3 separate regions of the Homo sapiens genome follow, and all the other regions are linked to region 2. Evidence: promoter capture Hi-C in 16 types of primary human blood cells and fetal thymus (Javierre and others, 2016). All regions are on one chromosome and are shown on one strand. Each heading gives the region's core, a stretch centred on a gene start or on the middle of the fragment in contact. The rest is flanking DNA. Distances are from core to core; before and after follow the strand shown. Region 1 holds the start of CDCA5 (cell division cycle associated 5). Region 2 holds the start of BRMS1 (BRMS1 transcriptional repressor and anoikis regulator). Region 3 holds the start of FAU (FAU ubiquitin like and ribosomal protein S30 fusion).

Evidence for each region. Contacts are between HindIII fragments. The CHiCAGO score rates a contact against its expected background, and 5 or more counts as called.
Region 1: the fragment with the promoter of CDCA5 here is called in contact with a fragment that was not itself captured in region 2 in 9 of 17 cell types (total B cells, naive B cells, naive CD4 T cells and 6 more); the score reaches 9.3 in total B cells.
Region 3: the fragment with the promoter of FAU here is called in contact with a fragment that was not itself captured in region 2 in 2 of 17 cell types (naive CD8 T cells and non-activated CD4 T cells); the score reaches 6.0 in naive CD8 T cells.

Annotation. Positions count from the first base shown.
Region 1 is chr11:65,081,187-65,085,540 of GRCh38, forward strand. CDCA5 (cell division cycle associated 5) reads right to left here and starts at 2,854. Exons shown (of 6, transcript NM_080668.4): 1 at 2,747-2,854; 2 at 2,443-2,537; 3 at 2,299-2,364; 4 at 2,178-2,213. The coding sequence starts at 2,792. ZFPL1 (zinc finger protein like 1) reads left to right here and starts at 3,036. Exons shown (of 8, transcript NM_006782.4): 1 at 3,036-3,192; 2 at 3,505-3,614; 3 at 3,929-4,040. The coding sequence starts at 3,513. RefSeq lists enhancers at 2,586-2,815, 2,896-3,165, 3,755-4,339. The HindIII fragment of the contact is 9,431 bases long and covers 1-4,313 here.
Region 2 is chr11:66,342,861-66,347,045 of GRCh38, forward strand. BRMS1 (BRMS1 transcriptional repressor and anoikis regulator) reads right to left here and starts at 2,244. Exons shown (of 10, transcript NM_015399.4): 1 at 2,112-2,244. B4GAT1 (beta-1,4-glucuronyltransferase 1) reads right to left here. Exons shown (of 2, transcript NM_006876.3): 1 at 3,630-4,185; 2 at 2,514-3,380. The coding sequence ends at 3,189. RefSeq lists enhancers at 1,984-2,534, 1,990-2,419. The HindIII fragment of the contact is 221 bases long and covers 1,215-1,435 here.
Region 3 is chr11:65,119,722-65,123,960 of GRCh38, forward strand. FAU (FAU ubiquitin like and ribosomal protein S30 fusion) reads right to left here and starts at 2,413. Exons shown (of 5, transcript NM_001997.5): 1 at 2,369-2,413; 2 at 2,018-2,100; 3 at 1,779-1,923; 4 at 1,260-1,315; 5 at 909-1,085. The coding sequence starts at 2,092. The coding sequence ends at 960. MRPL49 (mitochondrial ribosomal protein L49) reads left to right here and starts at 2,600. Exons shown (of 4, transcript NM_004927.4): 1 at 2,600-2,703. The coding sequence starts at 2,626. RefSeq lists enhancers at 2,371-2,460, 2,621-2,890. The HindIII fragment of the contact is 5,955 bases long and covers 1-4,239 here.

The sequences.
Region 1 (4,354 bases), core at 1,604-4,103, 1.3 Mb before region 2:
GGCTGAGGTGGGTGGATCACCTGAGGTCAGGAGTTTGAGACCAGCCTGGCCAACATAGTGAAACCCCATCTCTACTGAAAATACAAAAAAAATTAGCCAGGTGTGGTAGCAGGTGCCTGTAAGCCCAGCTACTTGGGAGGCTGAGGCAGGAGAATCGGTTGAACCTGGGAGGCGGAGGTTGCAGTGAGCCGAGATTGCGCCACTGCACTCCAGCCTGGGTGACAGTGCGAGACTCCATCTCAAAAAAAAAAAACACAGGGAAGCTGAACAAATTGGTGGTCACTGCTGACTACGACTTCCTCATTCTCTATAGCCAAGCAGTCACCCAGGTCCTGGCAACTTTATCCTGCTCGATGTACCATGAATCTCAGTCAATCAACAAGAATGAGTGGCTACTAGGAAAGGCAGAAGTCCCTACCCTCAAGGTGCCTGTGTTCTTAGAGGGGGGAGAGAAAGACATCAAACATGCAAGAAAATACACTATAAGAACTGATAAGGACCAGGCACAGTGGCTCATGCCTGTAATCCCAACACTTTAGGAGGCCAAGGTGGGAGGATCACTTGAGCCCAGGAGTTCAAGACCGGCCTGGGCAACATAGTGAACCCTCATCTCTATAAAAAAAATTAGAGAAAACATCAAAAAATTAGCCAGGCATGGTGGCATGTGACTATAGTCCCAGCTACTTGAGAGGCTGAGGAGGGAAGATCTGCAGTGAGCCGAAATCTCGCCACTGCACTCCAGCCTGGGTGGCAGAACAAGACCCTATCTTTAGAACTGGTAAGGCCTAAGAGAATTACATAGAGAAATGTGACAGCAATAGGGTAAGGGTGGTCAGGGAAGGCCACTGGGGGGCAATTCCCTCTGAACCCAGTACTGTATATCATCCTGGCTTTAGCTCACGCCCTTGGCTTCATGCTTCAGAATTCCTGGACTTCACGTCATTCCACTGGTCTTGGAGCCCCAGGGTAGCCCTTCTCAAAACCATTCTCCCCACAGCCCCCAGAGGGGTCTTTCTTAAAACACTCAAACTTGACTCGGTCACTACCTTACCCAGAACTCTCCAAAGGCTGCCCACAGACCCAAGAATGATGCCCAAGCCATGAGTGTGGCTTTTGTGCCTCATCAGGATCTGCTCTGCCTTAGGGTGCTTCCTCCCCTGCTGAGGTCTGCTGCAGACACTAAACAAATTGCTATTCCCCGAACCTTGATTTTTCTTTAAATTCCCAATCTCTGCAAACATGGCTTCTTTGACCTGGAACAAACCTACTTGTCTTTTTTTTTTTTTTTTTTTTTGAGATGGAGTCTCGCTTTGTCACCCAGGCTGGAGTGCAGGGGCGTGATCTCGGCCCACTGCAACCTCCGCCTCCTGGGTTTAAGCGATTCTCCTGCCTCAGCCTCCTGAGTAGCTGGGACTATAGGCACGTGCCACCATGCCTGGCTAATTTTGTATTTTTAGTAGACACAGGGTTTCACCACGTTGGCCAGGCTGGTCTTAAACTCTTGACCACAAGTGATCTGCCCGCCTCAGCCTCCCAAAATGCTAGGATCACAAGCGTGAGCCACTGCACCCGGCCTCTACTTGTCTTTAAAGACTCAGTTCAAATGTTTCTTCTTCCACGAAACATTCCCTGAGCCACATGGTCTGGGTTAGCTACCATCATAGCATCTAGTATTCCTTATTGCAGTCCCAGTACACAACGTTGCTATCACTTGTCATTGGTCTTTCTCCCCAGTTGACTCTAAGCCCTATCAGCTCTTCAAAGGAGTTCACATTTCTCAGTCAGTATGTCTTCAGATTGTCTATTAATGAAACATCCTTTGATAATAACTTCTGCTAAAACTGTAAAAATGTCATACACATGACTTATCTCAGAACACCCATACATGAAAGCTGAAGGCATAATGGATTAGAAAGGCAGTACGTGGAGTTAAGACATAGCTCAGCTTTTAAAGGAAGTTCCAGGAAAATGGTAGAAATACACAAGGCATAAAAAGTTAAGTGTATTAAGTCTTCAGGGAGTAATCAAGACTGGCAATGCATGCAGGTGCCCACAGGCAAACTGTTTTTGCAGTACTGCAAAACAGCTCCCTGGGCAGATGTGAGGAGCCAATGTGTGCTGTCCAGCTCTAGAGTGACCCAGATTCTACTTAATTAAGTAGATGAAAGTGAACTCACCCTAGGGCTCCTGCGAGGTGATTGGACAGCTGGGACCTGCGGGGGACAATACCAATTGATCACATAGCTGGTCCCCAGTTTTGCCCGCCTAACCACCCACAACACTCTCCTTAGCCTTTACCTCTACAGCATGGGCCACGATCCTCTTTAAGACGATGGGCTTTCTGACTGCAGCCGCACTGGGTGTCTGGAGAAGAGGGATGAACGTGAGCTCAACATTAGGTGAGGGGCCACAAGGGGAGGAAGTGAGAAATCTGGGGCTCACCTTCGGCCAGATTTCAGGGAGGATGCTCGGGAGTTCAGAGCCTGATTTCCGCTGGGACCTCCGCAGAGGCTTAGTAGGAGATGGGGCCCTTGGCCCTGGAAAGAGAAAAAAGTTAAGTGGTAGAGGAGGACTCTAGACCTTAGAGTCCAGAGAACAGGTTCTAGAGACAGCGAGAAGATTCCCAAACAAGCCCTTTTAAGGGCGCCTCCTCCGGCGGCGGCAGCGGGAGGGAAGAGGCCATCTTTCACCGGACTGCGTCCCCCAAACGGCTCGACCTCACGTCTCCCGCGCGCCCTCCGCTCACCGGAGCGCTGAGCGGCTCCTCCGGACCGCGTTCGCCTCCCAGACATAACTTAGGCTCCGTCTCGAGCTCCTCCAGCGCCGCCGCCCCGGGCGCGCGCCAACCGGGAAGGCCACTCGCTGCAAAAAACGTTCGAATTACCCGCCCTGCGGGAAAGGAAGCGGAAGTGACGTAGGGCTAGCGGTCTGCGGCCCTCGGAACCCCGAGTCTTTTCCACCCGTCTTCACCTCTAGCGGCAGCGGAGGCGTGGCCCAGGGGCGCGATGGCGTCATCAGCGCGCGCCGCACCCGGAAGAGACGTGGCAGCGGAGGGATAATCGGGGCGGCCGGGGCTGAAGGGAGAGGCGCAGGAGCCCTGGGGAGAGTGGTCCCTGCCCTTCCGCGCCTCGAGCCATCGCTACCGCCCTTCGGAACCAGTGCAGCGGCCGATCAGTAAACACAGAGACTGGGGTCTGTAGAGAAGGGGCGGGACTTGGAGGGGGTGGGGCTCAGGAGAGGTCTTGGGGGCGGGGCCGGTAGTATCGGGGAGCCTCTGATGGAGGGGCCTGGCCGGGGGCGGGATCCAGAAGGATTGAGGGGTCGCCGGAGGCGGGATTTATGCAGGGGGTGTTTCTCCGCATAAGGAGGGACAGTGGGCAGGAATCTGAGATCGGGGCGAATATGAGAGGTGTCTGGGGGAGTTAAGAGTGGAAACTGGGCTGGTGAGAGCGTAGTGGTGGCCACCAGAACCTGACTTCCTACCAACTCATGCCCCTTTCCCAGGATCGATCATGGGGCTTTGTAAGTGCCCCAAGAGAAAGGTGACCAACCTGTTCTGCTTCGAACATCGGGTCAACGTCTGCGAGCACTGCCTGGTAGCCAATCACGCCAAGGTGGGGCCTTCAGGGGAGCGACTGAGCAGGGCACTGGGTGGGCAAGGCGGTATTGGCTTCCTCCAAATCCATGAGGGGCCCCGCGCTAGAATGTAAGCCCCACAAGGGCAAGGACTTGATTTATTTTGTTCACTGATATATCCCCCGTTCCCAAGAGAGAGTCTGGTGCACAGTATGTGCTCAATAAATATTTATTGATTAAACAAACGAAAGGATGAGTCTCCTCTGTGGCTAGAGAAAAAGAGACAGTCGGACCTTGGGGTGATAGGCCGAGCAGCCCCAGCACCAGTTGTGACATCTCTCTCCCACTCCAGTGCATCGTCCAGTCCTACCTGCAATGGCTCCAAGATAGCGACTACAACCCCAATTGCCGCCTGTGCAACATACCCCTGGCCAGCCGAGAGACGACCCGCCTTGTCTGCTATGGTGAGGCCTTGGCACCTCGGGGGGATCAGGCCAGCCTCAGGGGCCAGCTTGGTGACTGGTTTCCAGGCCCTCCTCAAGCAGCAGGACAGTGAGTCCCCCGAGTCTCAGAGCCCAGATTCTAGTCCTGTTAAAGTTCCTTACCTGCTGTGTAAGTTCAGGCAAGTTATTCTTCCTTTCTAGGCCTCACTGTCTTTCCTAAAAATTAAAGCTCCTAGTTCCTCTTTCCTAAAAATTAAGCCCTGCCAATCTGGAGGTTTCAGCGAGAACCAGTCAAGCTTACGGGTATGCTGGTGGCCGTGACTATTAGCTAGCCA
Region 2 (4,185 bases), core at 75-2,574:
TTCCTTCTGCCTATAATGTCCTCGGCTTCTCTTCCAGATAATGTTACAATCTCCTTGTCTTTCATTGTGCTCTGGGTCAAATCCCATCTCCTTCTGCTTCCTCTTGGACCGCAGGTCATCAGTGCTCCCCTCTCTTTTCTGTGTCTTCAGCTTCTAACTCTTAGCAACCTCCTTCCCATGAAACTTTGGATGTGCTTGGGTACTTCCTAGCATTAACAAAACACAGAAACACAAAACCTCACCCATTCCACCTAACTGCTCCATTTGCCACTTCACAGTTACACTTTTCAAGGTCTCATGAACACTGGCTGTTCCTACTTTCACCTCCCACTTGTTCGATGTCCTCAATCTCAGCTGAAACTGATCCCGTAGCATTAACCAATGACTTCCTTGTGGCTAATGCCAATATTTTTCAGTGCTTATTTTAATTGTCTGCTCGGCAACATCCAACACTGGTAAGCATTCCTTCTTTTACTGACTCATCTAACATGTATTGAACATCTAACATATGCTAGGTACCGTCAGACGCTATGGTATGCAGGCGCCCAAGTGTGAATGTCTTTGACCTCACGGAGTTTACAAGTTCCTGGGAGACAGGGGCAAAGGAGCACACTATAACCATGATAGGAGGAGAGTTAAGACCAGGGGCATAAGGGAGGGGTATATAACCAGGACCTGGAGCCCGATGCAGCAGGGAGGCTTCCAGACAAAGATGGACCAGCTGGGTGAGCTGCACTTATTGAGGGAACATTCCAGGTAGAGTCAGTAGCAAAGACCCAGAAATAAGAGAAGGAAAGCAGCTGGGGGAACATGGGTCTAAGTCTCAGTGAGAAATCTGAGCTGCAGGGATTTGGTCGTCAGCATACAGCAAGTTCTTCATGCCACAGGAGAAGGTGCAACCAGCAAGGCACAATGTGTGCGATCAGAAGACGCCCAGGGTCACCAAAGGGGCAGATGAGGAGACCCCTACAAAGGAGGAGGCAAAACCCGAAGTGGTGGAGAAAGAGTTTTAGAAGAAAGCCAAGTACTGCCAAGGAGTAATTGCACTGATAGTGCCAAGTACTGCCAAGAGATCACCTAAGAAGAAGAAAACAGTCCTCTCAGCAGATAATCTCTCAACCTCCTGCAGGCTTCTATTTTATTGTGTTCTTCCAACTTCTCTGGACACTGCTTTGTAGTCCTTTAGAACAGTGCAGACACCACTCCCTCCAGGAAGCTTTGTTTATATCTATTTGCCTGTTCTCATATCTGTCCCCGCAATCAGTCTATGAGCCTCACTAGGGCAGGGGCTGCACATGTAACTTATTTACCTAGCACAGTGCTGGTTCACTTGATGACTGGAGGATTTGCAAATACAAATTTAACAAAAAAATTTTTTGTGAGACAGACATTAGTTTTTACTTTTCGGTAGTCCCAGGTCCCTGTAATGGTAGCAAGCTTTCCTTGACACCAGTTCAAGTTGTGTATAGTAAGCCTGGCCTAGGTGAGTGTTTAGTCATATTCCTCAACAATTTCACTAATGACCTGCACCTGACTTGAAAGGCTCGGTTCTCTAAACCAGCTTCATCTTCCCGTTATCAAGCCTCAGTTCCCAACATTTGCAATGCCTCTTCACTGTTAGTATATTCACTTTGTAAGATGCAGCTTAAGTCTATCTCTTCCAGAAGCCTTTCTTTCCTCCCCCTGGTTCTGATTATGAGTGAGTTAAGTCACAACCTTCCCACCTTACCCCGGGTGCAAAAAGCGGATAACCATTCCTGCTCTGAGTGTTGAGGAGCTCACAGGTGGTAAGGGATGGAAAAGCACACTGTAAAGCGCTGTACACAGGCAATTTATCTTTTCAGAATGGCAGCTCCTCCGGGGCAGGCCCCTAGGGAAGGCAGACCCTCCCCACTCTCGCAGAGGTCAATCCAGCTTCTCCGCAGCGCCCAGGGGGCCTCCCGCTCCCTTCTAGATGCGCCGGAGCGGGCCGGAATATCACTGGCTCGCCCGCAGCCCAGCACGCGTCAGGCCGGTTAAATCTCTGCTTCGGCCTCGGAGGAGGAGGTTGTGCCGGCCCTGCTCGACTAACCGGAGAGGGCGAACCAAAAGCCATGCATGACGATACGCACCGCGGGGACTGGAGCCTCTGGCCTCACGACGGAGATTCCCTGAGAGCTGCCCGTGGTTGCCGGTACCGGCTGCTGCCGCCGGACTCCCGTAGGCGCTGCGCGGCTCCCTTTTCTTCGGGAGGCAGAGCCTATCGGTGCTTCCGTGTGCGTCATCAGGAGGCGACCGTCGGGGATGCTCACAGTTGGACAGTTTGGTCCCGAGGCATGCTGGGATACCGCGGGCCGGTCTCCATAGTAACTGGCCGACATTCGCGCAGGCCTTCGGCCTGCAGGGAAGGCCCTGATGGTTCAGTGCTTTGCAGACGGTGCCCTTCGTCCGCGGCCATCTCCCCACGGCGTGCAAGGGGAGAAGCCGGCCCCGATCCCCCCACCCCCAGCTCAGGAGAGTAACGGAGCCAGCTGTGGGTGTGAACACGCATTTATTTACACATTGTCATCGGTAGGCACATACCCAGCCCAGCCCGTTGAAGGGACAGATCTCAGGCTGTCACCCATGGAACCTGCAGACCCTTCCCTCCTCCAGAACCCTTGAAGGCGAAGCCCTGAGAGAACCAGGAATTTTAGGCTTCTGTTCAAGAGCTAAGAACTAAATTTTATGCCTTCATCTGATTTCTTTCCAAAAAGTCCATTTCATTAAGTATTCAGACTTCTTAGCTCCATCCCATTCATACTTTTTGCTCTCCTACTACCCACCCAAGATTGTTAATAATAACAATAATAATAACAACAATAATACTGCGATAATATTAATACTTCACATTTGTACGAAGCTTACAGAATGTTTTCACATATAGCATCTCATCTGAGCCTCCCAACAGTTCCGTGAGGTAGGTATTCTCACCTCCCTTTTTACAGACAGGGTAACCGAGGCTCAGAGAGGTAACGGGATTTACTCAAGGCCACACAGCTAGTTAGTGGTAAAGCTAGGAATCGATCCCAGCACCCCATATCCAAGTCCAGTGTTTCAACACCACAGCTACCTCTGTAAAGTGGAGCGACATTTCTTACCCCAGTCAGGCCTAAATGGTGGCCTGAGGAGCCAAGAGGCTGACTTCTCAGATTAGGGGAGGGAAGGGCTCAGCAGCGTCGGGGAGAGTTGGGGTACTTGGCCTTCAACTCCTGTTTGAACTGGCGATATAGGATCTTATTGTGCTGATTTTCAGCCTCCTTTTGGGGATGGAACTTCAACGCTTCTTTGAAGCCCTTATGAACCAAGAAACCTTCGTTCAGGACCTCAAAATCAAACCCCGCCACATGCAGCTCGCAGGCCTGCAGGAGGAAAGACAGGTTAGCAAAGTTTGATGACATTGACAGGCCTGAGACTGACTTCCCTAAAGCCACAGTCCAGCGTCCTCACCCCTCTGGAAGTATCCTGGATCTTCCACACCATCCACCCACCTCCTGAACTATGATCCCTCCTGCTTCATTGCCTCCTTTCCATCCAGGGCCACTCCTCATAACTCCCTGATCCCACCACCCCTCCTGCCCCATTACCCCTGCCCTCTCCCTTATGAGCACCTGGCTGATTCGGTTGAAGCCGTACTGCCGAAAGCGCTCGTCGAAGGTGGGCACCTTGCCTCCTGCCACGTAGAATGGCTCCCAGGGGTCCTGCCAAGGTACCACGTAGGCGGGCCGCAGCAAGCTCTCTTCCGGCAGGTTGACCCAGCGGGAATAGTTGGTGGGTGCCTGGCAGGGGGTGCACAACCCATAATAGAAGGGCCGCACCTCGCCAACCTGGTAGAGCTGCACCAGCTCGTTTTTGTTCATGGGCATGCGGCGGGCTCTTCGGATTTCGAAGGCAGGCACCACCAGCGCGGTGCCTCCCCACTGGTTGCTCTGATCCAGCATTTCCCGCAGGCCTCTCCACAGCCCCTCGCTGGGCACCATGTCCACATCGATCACCAGGGCATAGTTGGCCCCCTCACGAGCCAGATTCCTCAGCAGGTTATTGGGGTAGGAGACATTGGTGCCCAGCGCATAATTAATCCCGGGCTGGGCCACCCTGGCTAGCTTGTCAAAGACCTCCTGGCAGGACCGCAGCAGGGCAAACTCCCCCGGCTCCCGGGGGTCGGGC
Region 3 (4,239 bases), core at 1,163-3,662, 1.2 Mb before region 2:
TGCTGGAAGGCAGAAACCATGTCTTTAACACCACAGAGACAAAAATAGCCAAGATTCACACACTCACTGTAAGCCAGATGTTGATTTACATCCTTTAACCCTCACAGCAGCCCTGGAGATGGCAGAGATTAAATTAGTAGTTAGTTCAAAGGCCAGCCACCCAGTAAATGGAGTAGGAAGAAAAAGAAGGTCCAAACTCAGGCAGTCAAAGTCCACAGCCCAAGGGCTTTACCCTGTTGGATGCTATTTCTCAAGAACTGGCAGGTCCAGAAACTTTAGCTGAATGAGTAAGTGGGGTTCAGAAGTGCTGGGAGGCTCAGTTGCCAGAAGAGAACCCTGAATCAGCCCCAGAGGTAACCCAACTTTTGGGAACACTGAAACCTCACTATATCCAATCACAGATGTGATTAGGTTACCAAGTCCGGCCAGGCAGTCACAGAGGTACAAACGAGGCCATGCTCCCAACATAATATTTACTTCTAAAACCAAGGCAGACCAGATTCCTGCCCTGGACTCTAAGGCCACAGCTGGTACCAAGTTCAGGGAACGGCCAGGTTCACCTTCTATACAAACCTCTTCCCCCACCCATCCCTTCTATTGCTGCCTCCATAACAAACCTCTCACCACAGTGATTCCTGCTACCTTCTCTGTTTAGAAGATGAAAAAGAATGACCTGGGGGGACTGATCAAGTTACTTAGGATAGGGAATAACCCCAATTTTACATCTGAAGCCCCCCAGGATCTGTAGCTGTTTCTTCACAGGAAATTTCTCTTGTAGTTTACCATTTCTTCCCCCCATACCAAAGGCTTCTGCCTTTTCTGCCTCACTGTTCTCCTAGGGGACATACCACCAACCCGAGAAGCACACCTCTCCCTGAGGCCTTGCAAGTAAAGATGAAACAATGCGATGACTGAACTAAGTGGCTTTTTTATTAGAGAAAGCCAGAATTACAAAAGACTTAAGAGTTGGCATTGGGGCCCTTCTTCTTGCCAAAGGTGGGCACAACGTTGACAAAGCGCCGGTTGTACTGCATCCGCCGCTTAGCCCGACCTGTCTTCTTCTTCTTCTTCTCCTGTTTGGCCACCTGGAGAAGGGAAGGTTAATCAGGCCCTGGTTCCTGTCTTCCACACCTAGCATCCCTTCCCTCAGGCTCATCTCCAGGGAGGGAGAAGGCAAACCGAGTAAGAGCCCAGGGACTTGGTTTAGCTGTGAAAGGAAAAAAAGTCCTAACACCATGACCACTAATACTCTCACTCACCTTAGGAGTCTGACCTCTCACTTTTCCAGCACGGGCCAGGGAACCATGGACTTTACCTGTAGTGGGAAAGGAAGGCACCAGCAGGTAAGAGCAAGAAGGTGCCACCCAGCAGAACCCCTCTTTTCTCAATTCAAGCCTTTAAAGAGAAGCTGCGCCCAATAGGTAATGAGAACAAAGTTGCAGATATTTGACCTTGAAATCTTAAGTTTCATTTCAGGATCTTCCAGCTTCTAATTTTATAGAGCACTTTGGGGGCCCTGGTCTGACCTAATTTTAGTGTGGAAGCTGATAACCAGACTAGGATCTCGTGATGTGACTGAAATACAACTACACTCTGGCTCAGTCTCCCATGGACGTCTGTGTTCAACATGAGGGATGTAAACAGGAAGAATCACTCTGAACTGAAGACAGTGAGAAGTACTCTATTACCATAGGTGTGACACTCAGCTGTCAGGACTATGCACCCCACACTCACTAGACGCTTACCGGTACTTCAAAGAACATTCCTCTCTCACTCACCTCCAAGCATGCGGCCTGCTACTTCCAGGGTAGTCAGGGCCTCCACCCCGCACTGGCCCAGAGTGGCCTCATCCTCCAGGGGCGCGCCTGCCAGGAGCACGACTTGATCTTCCGGGGCAATGCCCTCCAGTGAGGCTACATGAGCCTACAGGGAAAGATAAGGCTCGTAAGCGTTCCCTCGGGCCGCGAGAGTGAAGAGCACAAGAAAATGGAACCCAGGGCGCACCAAGCAGCCTTACCTTGATCTGGGCGACCGTTTCCTGGCCGGTCACCTCGAAGGTGTGTAGCTCCTGGGCGCGGACAAAGAGCTGCATATTGGCGACTGAGTAAAGAAAAGACGGCTTGTAAGAGAAGCCAAGAAATGCTCTGGGATAAAGGAGATTTGGGAGTGGAAAGCGGTCCAGAAACGATCGCGACGGGATGGTGGTCGCGGCGGCTCACGTGGGGAAGGCCAGGCCTCCCAAGGAGTTCGGATAGGGACTGGAGCAGGGCCACGGAGCAGGCCCCGTTCTTCGGTTCCCCCCGCGCCTTCTGACCCCGCAGCCAACCTGCTACAAGCCCTTCGGATCCAGCCAAGGCCCCATTCTTACCTGAACGGCGGTCCCAGCTACCGCGAAGATGGAGTCGAGAAAGAGGAAGAAGCGAGGGCGCGTCAGTACAGACCGTGGGCTGCGTGTCACGTCACTGCTGAGCGACCGCGCGGTTCCCTGCTATTTGTACCGCCCAAGGCAGTCCTAGCTCCGCCCCTTTACGCTCGCACCGGCGAACCTGCCTGGGCAGGCAGCTCGCGCAGGACGGGGCGGGACCAGACAGTTGCGCGCACAGAAGGCTGGCGTAGCAGGTAAAGATGGCAGCTACCATGTTCCGGGCTACGCTGCGGGGATGGAGAACCGGTGTCCAGCGGGGCTGCGGGCTACGGCTGTTGGTGAGAGCGCTGAGCGAGGAGCTGAGGGCATCGCGTGGGTGTGAGGCTCAGTGTTAATCATTGTTAACCCCGAAAACTAAGGCATTCCTACTTGGGGCCTTAGTTTTGCCGTTTTCGATCAGGAGAACTTGTCCCGAGTGTACATATAGAATCGAGAGGGAAAATGGTAGACTGGGGTGCTCTTTGGGAGCACTTAACACAGTGCCTGGCAGTGTCTATATAAGCCACAACGTTTCAGGTAAGGGGCGGGGTCCTAGCATATGAGTGTGCGTGGGGAATTATGATTGCCTTAATTCTTTTTTTTTTTTTTTTTGAGACGGAGTCTCGCTCTGTCGCCCAGGCTGGAGGGCAGTGGCGCGATCTCGGCCCACTGCAAGCTCCGCCTCCCAGATTCACGCCATCCTCCTGCCTCAGCCTCCCGAGTAGCTGGGACTACAGGCTCCCGCCACCATGCCCGGCTAATTTTTTGTATTTTTAGTAGAGACGGGGTTTCACCTTGTTAGCCAGGATGGACTGGATCTTCTGACCTCGTGATCCGCCCGCCTCGGCCTCCCAAAGTGCTGGGATTACAGGCATGAGCCGCCGAACCCGTCTGATTGCCTTAATTCTTAAGGCAATCATAAGATTAAACATCACTATATCCCGTCACAGATGTGATTAGGTTAGCAAGGCCAGCCAGGCAATCATGGAGGTACAAACAAGGCCACGCTGCCAATATAATAATATCTATTTCTAAAACCGAGACAGAAAGTTAAGCCTTAAGTTTCTAAAGGCTTGATTGACTTTTCAGAAGTGTACATATACTCTTTTGCATCCCACAGAAATCCTGAGAGGCAGACCATTCAGAGTACCTGAGCCTCCTTTCCATCCCATCTGTACCCTGCACCATGGAAAACCAAAGACTGGTGCTATCTTATGTCAACCTAAATAACAGACTCTAAAAGAAAAGGATATTTATTCGGGAATGGGTATAGACTATGTGCTTATCAGGGAGGTAAAAGAAGACAAAGGTTTTTAACAGAAAAATGGGCCAGGCACGGTGGCTCACGCCTGTAATCCCAGCACTTTGGGAGGCCAAGGCGCGTAGATCACCTGGAGTCAGGAGTTTGAGACAAGCCTGGCCAACATGGTGAAACCCGTCTCTAGAAAAAATACAAAAATTAGCCGGGTGTGATGGCGTGTGCCTGTAGTCCCAGCTACTTGGGAGGCTGAGGTAGGAGACTTGCTTGAACTTGGGAGGCGGAGGTTGCAGTGAGCCGAGATCACACCACTGCACTCCAGCCTAGGTGACAGAGTGAGACTCTATCTAAAAAAATAATAAAAATAAATAAAGGAAAGGAAAAATGAGTATTACATAATTGTTTTGAGACAGTTATCCTTGGCTACAAGGATGAATAACATGGGTGGTGCCAGTTCAAGATTGGACAGGCAGTTGTTGGACAGATGGCCATGCAGGAATTTGTTTTGTTTTGTTTTGTTTGAGAGAGTCTCGTCGCTCTGTCACCGAGGCTGGAGTGCAATGGTGCGATCTTAGCT